Linked DNA regions of Homo sapiens: region 2 is linked to region 1. Evidence: promoter capture Hi-C in 16 types of primary human blood cells and fetal thymus (Javierre and others, 2016). All regions are on one chromosome and are shown on one strand. The core of a region is centred on a gene start or on the middle of the fragment in contact, and the rest is flanking DNA. Distances in the headings are between cores, read along the strand shown.

Region 1 (4,182 bases), core at 984-3,483:
GTCAGTCAATCTGTAGTATTAACAGCCTTTCATTCAATTCTTTTTAACTTAGATTATCATGCCAAAATAAACCTCTTTAGTCGTAAACCTCTTTATTTCTAACTACAGAAAATTTATATTTACCTTTTTTTGAGGAAACAACCGGCTTCCATAAAAGTATCTTTTTTACTATAAAGGGATTAAGCAGTAGAGAGGAGTAAAGGCAGAAGTATTAATTCATTATTTCCTGGGTAAAATTTTGAAAATGGGAAGCAATGAAATTCTGTTTGGTATTAAAACATCTTTAAAAATTACAACACAATACGAGCAAAGGTGGAAATTTACCCCAAGTAGCAGACCAGCACATTTTAAACACACAAGCAAGAGCCGCCTCTGGCCACATGTTTTTTTGAGTTCAGTCTCTTAAAGAGACAGTATACGTAGACCAATGACTACACGGAGCACATTTCTAAAATGTTTATCAAGCATCCCTCTATTGCACGCATTTCTTTACAACCACATTAGGCCAACAGTGTTCTATTTTATTTTACTATGAAGTCAAATTATTTTGATCTGAATCTACAAAATGATTACAGGACAGGCAGCGATGAAATAATAAAGGGAGCTACTGTGACTAGAGGTGTCTAAAATAAGGCAATCTATACATTTCTTTCCACAGCAAACTGTTTCGCTTTGTTTTTTCAACCTTAAAATGATCATGTTTCTTCATTTTTCTACCCATTCACCAGATACAGGCGACAAAGTATATTGTATAGGTAATACCGGAAACAACAAGAACACTATTTCGCTGTAGAATGAAGCAGGGGGAAATGCTAATAACGTCAACCTTAATATATATAGTGAAATTTCAAATATTTTCTTTTCTCTTTAGACAGAAAACCCAGGAAAAGGCCCATACACGTACCCTAAACGTTGGACTACCTAGTGATTTCAGGGAAGATTTTGTCTTTCAATATACCGAAGGACATCTTATCGTACGTCTATTGGCATAACTACCGATCAGCTCCTCCACATGGAAAAAGATGAAGAGGGGGACAAAAAAGTTTGGCTTACTTGGTGTACAAATACATCGACTGGAATATCCAAGGGGCTTCCCTCTCGGTTTATCATGGAGATGAATCCAAATCCCATGCGCACATTGAACCACTTACAGTGGCCAGTTCCGCGCAAAACCTGGGATTCCTCCTCTGCCGGCTCCGGCAGCTTCCCGGGCTCTTCTCCACCACCTTTGCTAGCCCCGCCTGAGAAGGAACAGGACAAAAAAGTCAGTCTGTATTCCCATTCAATGTGCATTCAAAGATTAAAAAAAAAAAATTGCCTGCCTGGGGTTGGGGGGGAAGGGTAACAGAAAAAAAAAATTTTTTTTAATGGTTTGATTTCTTTTCTCCACAGAAAATACTTAAAATGAAAAGGGTTAAAAGGAAAGCGGGGGAGGGGGAAGCCACACTGTTCTATCGATCACACCAACTTCCACGTTTCTATACATACGTGTACTTATTCATTTAACTCCATTTTTCAGCCACATTTTACATTACAGCATGCGATACTTTACTTGTATATTGCTGATTTAATACTGATCCCATTGACAAAGAGAAATTTTCAGCGAAACTATTCTCTCCGGCGGGCACGAGGAGGAAAGAGAAATCGTGAAGATGGTTTAGAGCTACTAGTTAAGGCACATGGGGCAGCACTGAATCCAGCGTTATTTGCAATGTGCATTCCCCTCCCCCCCATAACTTTCAATTAAAGTTGGGGTGGAATGGGGGAGGGGGCAGGTGTATAAAAGTTTTCTTGGAATCACTAACTGAAACTGCGCTTAATCACACTCACACAATTCAAACAATAGCCCCCTGAAAGCTTTTCAAGTTGTGAATCAGTGTGGGCGGTACAAAACATTTTTGGAGATCTATAACAATAGGTTTGCAGAAAGCCCCACTGCGTGATGGGGGGTTGGGAGGTAATGCCCAGTATTGGGGTAAAAGGGGAAGGGGGGGACGGTCTAAGAAGGGTGGGAGAGGGGGAGGGGGAGGAGAAAAGAAGAAAGAAATTCACAGTAAAACAATAGAAAAGAAAATTAACCTTCGGCCATGTTGCCCCACGGGCCCTCAGCTCCAAACTCGTGAGATGAAAACTTTCCCTTTGGAACGGAGTGATCTTCTGCATCAATCTAACATCTTGATTTTGTGCGATCACAAATTTAGCTCGCATGGTCTAATGTGCTTTCCTTCTTTTGATTTTTTTCTCTCCTCTCTCCAGTTTCTGGCCCCCTGAGCACACGTGACTTTGTCAATTACATGCTTTCTTGCTACTAATTTCACCTCGTATCCTTAAGGGGCTGGCAAGAGGAAGAGATAACCAATCGCCATTTCATCTATGCTGACATCAAAATAATTTATGAATGAACACGAAAAACTCAAACATGTTATCTTAAAGACAATTTGGAACGCTTCTTTAGGATAAATCAGAATGCTGATTTCGTGCTTCTACTTAAACACAATGGAGGGACCTTGTGAATCATAGATTTAGAAAAAAAGGCAGTCATATATGTGCACACGCGTGCCTTACACACAAGCCTGACTAAAATCATGGGAGGGGGTCGTTTAAATAAAACAACCGATGTTAACGCTTTTTTTCCCCTTAAGAATTCAGCTATTCCATGGCAGTAAACCTGCTTGGAACGCTAATTTCATATTTAATTCAATTCTTAGAGGAAAATATATAATTTATAAAAGATCTAATTAAACCTAATTACATCCCCATGAAACTTTAGATAATGAAAACATACACCTAGGAAAAGGCAGAGGCACATAAATTACCTGATTATGCCCGAAATTTTTTCAAATTTAAAATAAAATCCTACTAGAAAAATCGTTTTCACCTTCATATAGTCAAATTGTGTTTAGGTAAACCATTTTGGAAAATTTTAGAGGGGGTTGGTAAGGAATTGTACTTCACAGGTTTCTCTGCCATCTCTTTCCGGGGGAGGAGATGTGATTAATGACTTCCTAAATAACAGCCCAGTTTTCCAGCCTAACATAGAGTGAACCTCAATCAGTGGCGATTGTTCCCCAAGAGCTGGAGGACATAGGGCAGGAGGGGGAGGGGATCGCCAGGCAGGGGAGGTGAAGAGGAGCCGCCAGGATAGGCGGCAGCAGAGTCAAAGAAAGAGGTGGGAGAGAAAAAAAGCCGGCGCGGGCAGGGGGTGGGGTGGAGAAAGAAGGACAAGTGGGAGAAAAAAGGTAAATTCATATCATATTGACTTGTACCCTGACATTTTAAAAGTCCACTACCAATGGCTAGAAGAGTTGAATAAACGAAAATGTAACAACGGATGAAGCTCCTACTGTCCTTCCTCAACTGACCCCCAGTTTCAAAATGCCTACCCCCTTTACCTTTCAAACTGGTTCAAACGATTGATTACAAGATGCTGGCAACAGTATTTCTGCCCTTATCGAATACTATAATAAATATTATAGATTAACTAAAAAGACTTTATTTCCTTTAAAATATAAAATATCGCTATTTTAAAACCTTAAAATGCACCACCAGACTTGCCTACCCCACCCCCCATTTTCTTAAACAAGCAGTTTACCAAGAAACTAACTGTTCAGATACCACTTCCTTCGACAAAGCTACCGAGTTGACCCTCCCCCACCATGCCAGCAATCCCCCTCCCAGTCTCTTCAAACACATCCACACTCCAGCACTGTTTCACACAAGCTAAAATGTAGGGATTATGAATCGAAGAGCTATGGAAAAAGCTGTATACACCTATTTATACTCCCTCCCCATATTAAACAACTAAATATAAATTTAATTGGCTCAGATTGGAAAATGGATGTATAAAAAATAGAAGTTATTTTCAGCTGTTTTTGATAAAAGGTTTAATGAAAACTAATCAATTTGGAAAGATTTTTTTTTTTGTCTGTTATTCCTTTTGTTATTTCTCAGGAAAAAGGGCTACTTTCTCATTTTATTTATTTTGGGAGGAATAATCCTGTGCCAGCTGTTAGGGAGAAAAGAAAAGGTGCAAAAATCCAATGACTTTGAAAGTTTAACAAAAGCTCAAAGCTCTGAAAAAATTATTTACTAACAAAACATTTACTAGGCATTATTTTGATGGTAGAAATTACTTCTATTATACTGATTACACTGACAAGAAAGTAATCTCAATGATGGCAT
Region 2 (4,182 bases), core at 892-3,391, 1.0 Mb before region 1:
GCGACTTTTTAAAAGGGGGCTCGAGCTCGGAGAACAAGAAACGTAATAGAAAAGCTATCCCCGCGCTGTCACGCGTCCCCGCTCGTCTTCCAGCGGAAGCGTCGCTGTAGGGTGGCAGTGGTGTATTTTTTTTTTTTAATTACGCAATTTAGGCGAATGCAGTCCAATCCAGAGCCGCTAGCTGTGTACGCGCTGAGCTTGGTAGAGTTCACCGTGGAATTTGCTTTTCCAACAACGACCCCGGGGGAGAGCCCGGGCCTCTTTAGGCGGCGTCTTACCTCGCCCCTCGCCTCCCGGCGTCTTCGGCGACCGCTCAGTAGATGCGGCGTCCCCAGCGCGGCACCCGAGCCCAGCCCAGCAGCGCGGGCTCTTCGCCTCCCTCTCCACCGTCCCCGCGCTTTTTAAAACTTTGGGCGCAGCTTTTGAGTGACTGTCCAGGAATCAGTGCTCCTGCCCCACTTCAACTAGCGTACAAATAAATACCTTACCCCCGTTCACGTTTCATAAATTAGGAAAAGACATCCAGCTTACATTCCCCCAAATTAGCTGTATCCGACTCTGCAATTCATTTACCCTTCCAAGTTGGTGACACGAAATTCTATTCTCCAAACAAACCGTAATGATCAATCCAACGTCCCTTTCTACTCCGTTTTAAAAGACTGAAGAATTAATGCCAGAGGAGAGCTATCAACACTGCCGGAGATTACAGATTAAGCGATATCAGAGCCCCATACCACCACTCTTTTACTATCCCTCATTCTGGGCGTGATCCCTCTTCACTAAAATCCTAGCCCAAATGTATTTTGTCCCCTACCCTTGATTCTTTGAAAATCTGTTTCCTAAAATAGTAAACGTAACGTTTTAAAGACCTTCTAACGTCACCCTCCTCATTGCAGTCCTAAGCGGCACACCAGCGCAGCTCAGCCCGCTCCTGAAGACTTCGAAGCAGGAAACCCAGCAATCTTCCAAGTGGCACCTTCCCTGCTGGCCTAGATGAACCTAGAAAGCAAGCAACTTCAATGAATGCAAACTAAGCTTTCCCGAGGAGAAACGTCAAAGCAGCTACAATCAGTCTCTGATTACACAAACATACCTAGGGGCAGGTTGGAGTAAGGAGGGCTTTAGGGGTGGGGGTTGCCTACCCAGAGGTGGCTTAAACCAGTTCTCCTATTGTTACTGAGTTTAGGAAAGCTAGCTTTTGTTTCGTGGTGGATTTTGGGGATCAAACCCGAGATGCCAGCTAAACATCCCTGAAGTCTTTGTAAGAGAACCTAACCCAAAGTTAGGACTTCAGTTCCTTTAAATTAAGATACTGAGTTATGCATAATTAACGATTCCAGTAGAGAAACAATGCAGAATTATTTTGAAATATTGTAAAAGGAGGGTCGACATGTGCGTCTATCTGCCCAGTTTTGCGAGAGCTAAATGCCACTCACGGGCCCCCTCTACCAAACCGGGAAGAGTGGCGACAGCGGGACTCCTTAGGTCATGTCTTGGGACCCAAAGGTTTCGGACTCCCTCCAACCATCCTTTTGGAGGAAGGAGGCTTACAGCTCTAACTCCCTCCCCAGCAAACAAACCAGAGAGAACTGAGGCCCTATCTTTCCTGGGCCCATCTGGAGACACACGCCTAGAAAGCAAAGCTCTTTCCCGCCTACCTAGTAGGTAGCGGTTGACGAGTGATTGTGCACAGTGTCCAGGAACTCCCAGGCTAAGGGACGTCCAGCTCTCGAGGTTTACAGGCAAGGGGGACCTGAAGTGGAGGGAGGTGCATTGTTTCCACATGGCGTTTAGGTGGTAACAGCCCAAAATATAGCTTTCATTGAGAGAGAAGAGCTACCCAGGCCCAGCTCTGCGCGCGGCGAGGGCCCGCTGGGATTGGGCGGACGCGCGTCACGTGACCGGGCGCCGTGCCCTGGAGCCCCGCCCCTCCCTGGCGCTCACTCGGCGGTGCTGCAGCAGCCGGGATTAGTCCCACTTTCACTTTCTGCACTGGGGCTTCACACCTGAGTGATATTGTTTTGTTTTCTTTTGTTTTTTGTTTTGTTTGATTTTGAGATGGCCAGTACAAAAAAGAGGCAGTCCAAAGAAAAAGAGCTCCATGCGTTTCTGGAAGGGGGTGATGAGCCGGGGAGGTCGGACGGGGGCTGTTCAGGGTCCGCGCTCCCGGGAGGACGAGGACCCGGAAAGCAGGTGTTTTCCCCATTGCAAGGGCAACACTGAGCTCGCGCGTCCACAAAACGTTCTGCGAAATTGTAAGGGCCTCCAGCATCACAACCAAAAGTAGAAAGTAGTAGGGGCTTCACCCTCCGAGCGCTGACGTGGTGATTTGTTTCTGAAGAAGGACTTGCTCCAGGTAGTTTATTAGGGTAGCGAGAGCGAAGGGCCACCAAAGCTGGCTTGTCATCCAACCTAGGAAACGGCACTCGCTGAAAAAACAAACTCACGATGGCTTCCGTCTCACCTCTAACCTGTGGGGGACTGGACTGGACTCAGTTCAGTACGAGTGCAGGGAGAGGGCTGCGCGCCAGCTCTGGATGAGCCCAGCCAGCGGTCCTATGTCTGTACCTGTCCTTATCGCTTATCACTAACCGCCCTTATCAGTCATTATCGCGGCTGGTCACTGACTAAAACATTCTTCCATAGTCCTAAATAAGTTCACCTATAGAAAGAAACCATTCCAGATCACTAACATGAGCTTGGCCCATTCATTTGTTCTTACATTTATATAACAGTGTTATTTTACATGTTGCACATTTTCCAGTGCCTGACTTACTAGGTTCTGAAGCACAGCAGCAACCTGTGAACCAGTCAGGCTCTTTTGCCTACGGTGACCTTCAAGTGTCCATCTGTAACAAGTCAGGGCAAGTTGCAATAAATAATTGGATCTTTGAAAGGAAAAAAAATGGTTTGTTTTCTCCTCTCTAAAAAGATTTCTCCAACACCTGAAAACTTTTAGCAAGTTGCTCAAACTTTAAGACTTCTGGGATTTTTTGTTTTTTTTTTTTGTTGTTGTTGTTTATTTGTTATTTGTACACTTCAGAGGGTAAGAAGAAACCAGGTAAAGTGTTGACAGTTGCCTAGCACAATGACTGGTACAAAGTAAATGCTCGATAAATTATTATTGTTAAAGTTAAACAAGTTATGCTTCCTCCTGTGTGTAGTTTTAAGTGACAATATAGTATTGTCCATTCTTCCATGCTTTATTTTTATATACAGGTTTGATTAGGGAGAAGGGAAAGCTTATAAAGCAATTTGCTTCAATCTTTGGTCGTGATAGTAACTTCCACTAACTAATTACACATCATTTTGAAAGTATTTCCTCAAATTTGTTTTGAATATATAATATGGCCTTTGAATTTCCTTAACTTCTCCCTTATACTTTTACAAAATGAAAGGGTATGGTCTTATCCCACTAGCTATTTCACAAGCAAACATGGTAACTCTTTTGGGGGAAGAGATTATTATTTTCTCTGGGAAGTTAGCTGAAAATCTACCAAAAAGTGCAGTCCAGAATAAGAATTAATTAAATAACCAAAAAGATCATTTTTGTTTTGCTATCTGGAAAAAAATGACATAGAATAGATATGTAAAATGTTAATTTTAAAATATAGCTGTTTTTTAATTCCTGCTTTTGGAAGCCAATTTGGATGGTTGAAATGAAAGTTGTTTTCCCTTTAAAATTAATATAATTATCACTAGGTCACCTAGAAAGAATATCTCTGGTCTAAACTTCTCTTCTGTGCTCCAAATTCCCTCTTTCACAAATGACAAAGAAACCGCTTGGATATATATGGAGCTAAACTCATCACCTCTCCTACCATTCTCCCTTTGGACATTCTAGATCTTACTTAGTTCAACCTCCCAGTCATCCATACTACAAACCTGGAAGCCATGCTCGAATCTTCTCTTTTTCTGCCCTCCACTTTAAGTCAGTTATCAAGTCCTGCCTGATTTAAACTCCTAATTGTGCCTCAGATATGCCCCTTCCCTTCCTTTCTAATTCCTGCTGCTCCAGTCTAGGCCTTCCTTGTCTTGCTCCCTGGCTCCCTTGCTGCAGCAGCCTCTTCACTGTAAGCCTCTGCCATTATCATTTCCTTCCAGTCCTTTGTTGAGTGACTTATCTGAAAAGCAGATCTGGACATGCCACTCACCTTTATAGGCTTCCTATTACTTACCAGA

The links. The method cuts DNA at HindIII sites, captures the fragments that hold promoters and counts their contacts. A CHiCAGO score of 5 or more calls a contact.
Region 2: a contact is called between a fragment that was not itself captured here and the fragment with the promoter of LIN28B in region 1, in 1 of 17 cell types (fetal thymus). The highest score is 13.6, in fetal thymus.

What each region holds. Positions count from the first base shown.
Region 1 is chr6:104,955,158-104,959,339 of GRCh38, reverse strand. It overlaps LIN28B (lin-28 RNA binding posttranscriptional regulator B), which reads right to left and starts at 2,233. Exons shown (of 4, transcript NM_001004317.4): 1 at 2,080-2,233; 2 at 1,054-1,241. The coding sequence starts at 2,089. RefSeq lists enhancers at 1,345-2,282, 2,283-3,220. The HindIII fragment of the contact is 2,336 bases long and covers 1,860-4,182 here.
Region 2 is chr6:105,990,327-105,994,508 of GRCh38, reverse strand. It overlaps a transcript of PRDM1 not described here. Among named protein-coding and RNA genes, the nearest start is that of PRDM1, 94 kb to the left of the region's middle. RefSeq lists an enhancer at 729-1,263 and a silencer at 1,794-2,003. The HindIII fragment of the contact is 2,207 bases long and covers 1,038-3,244 here.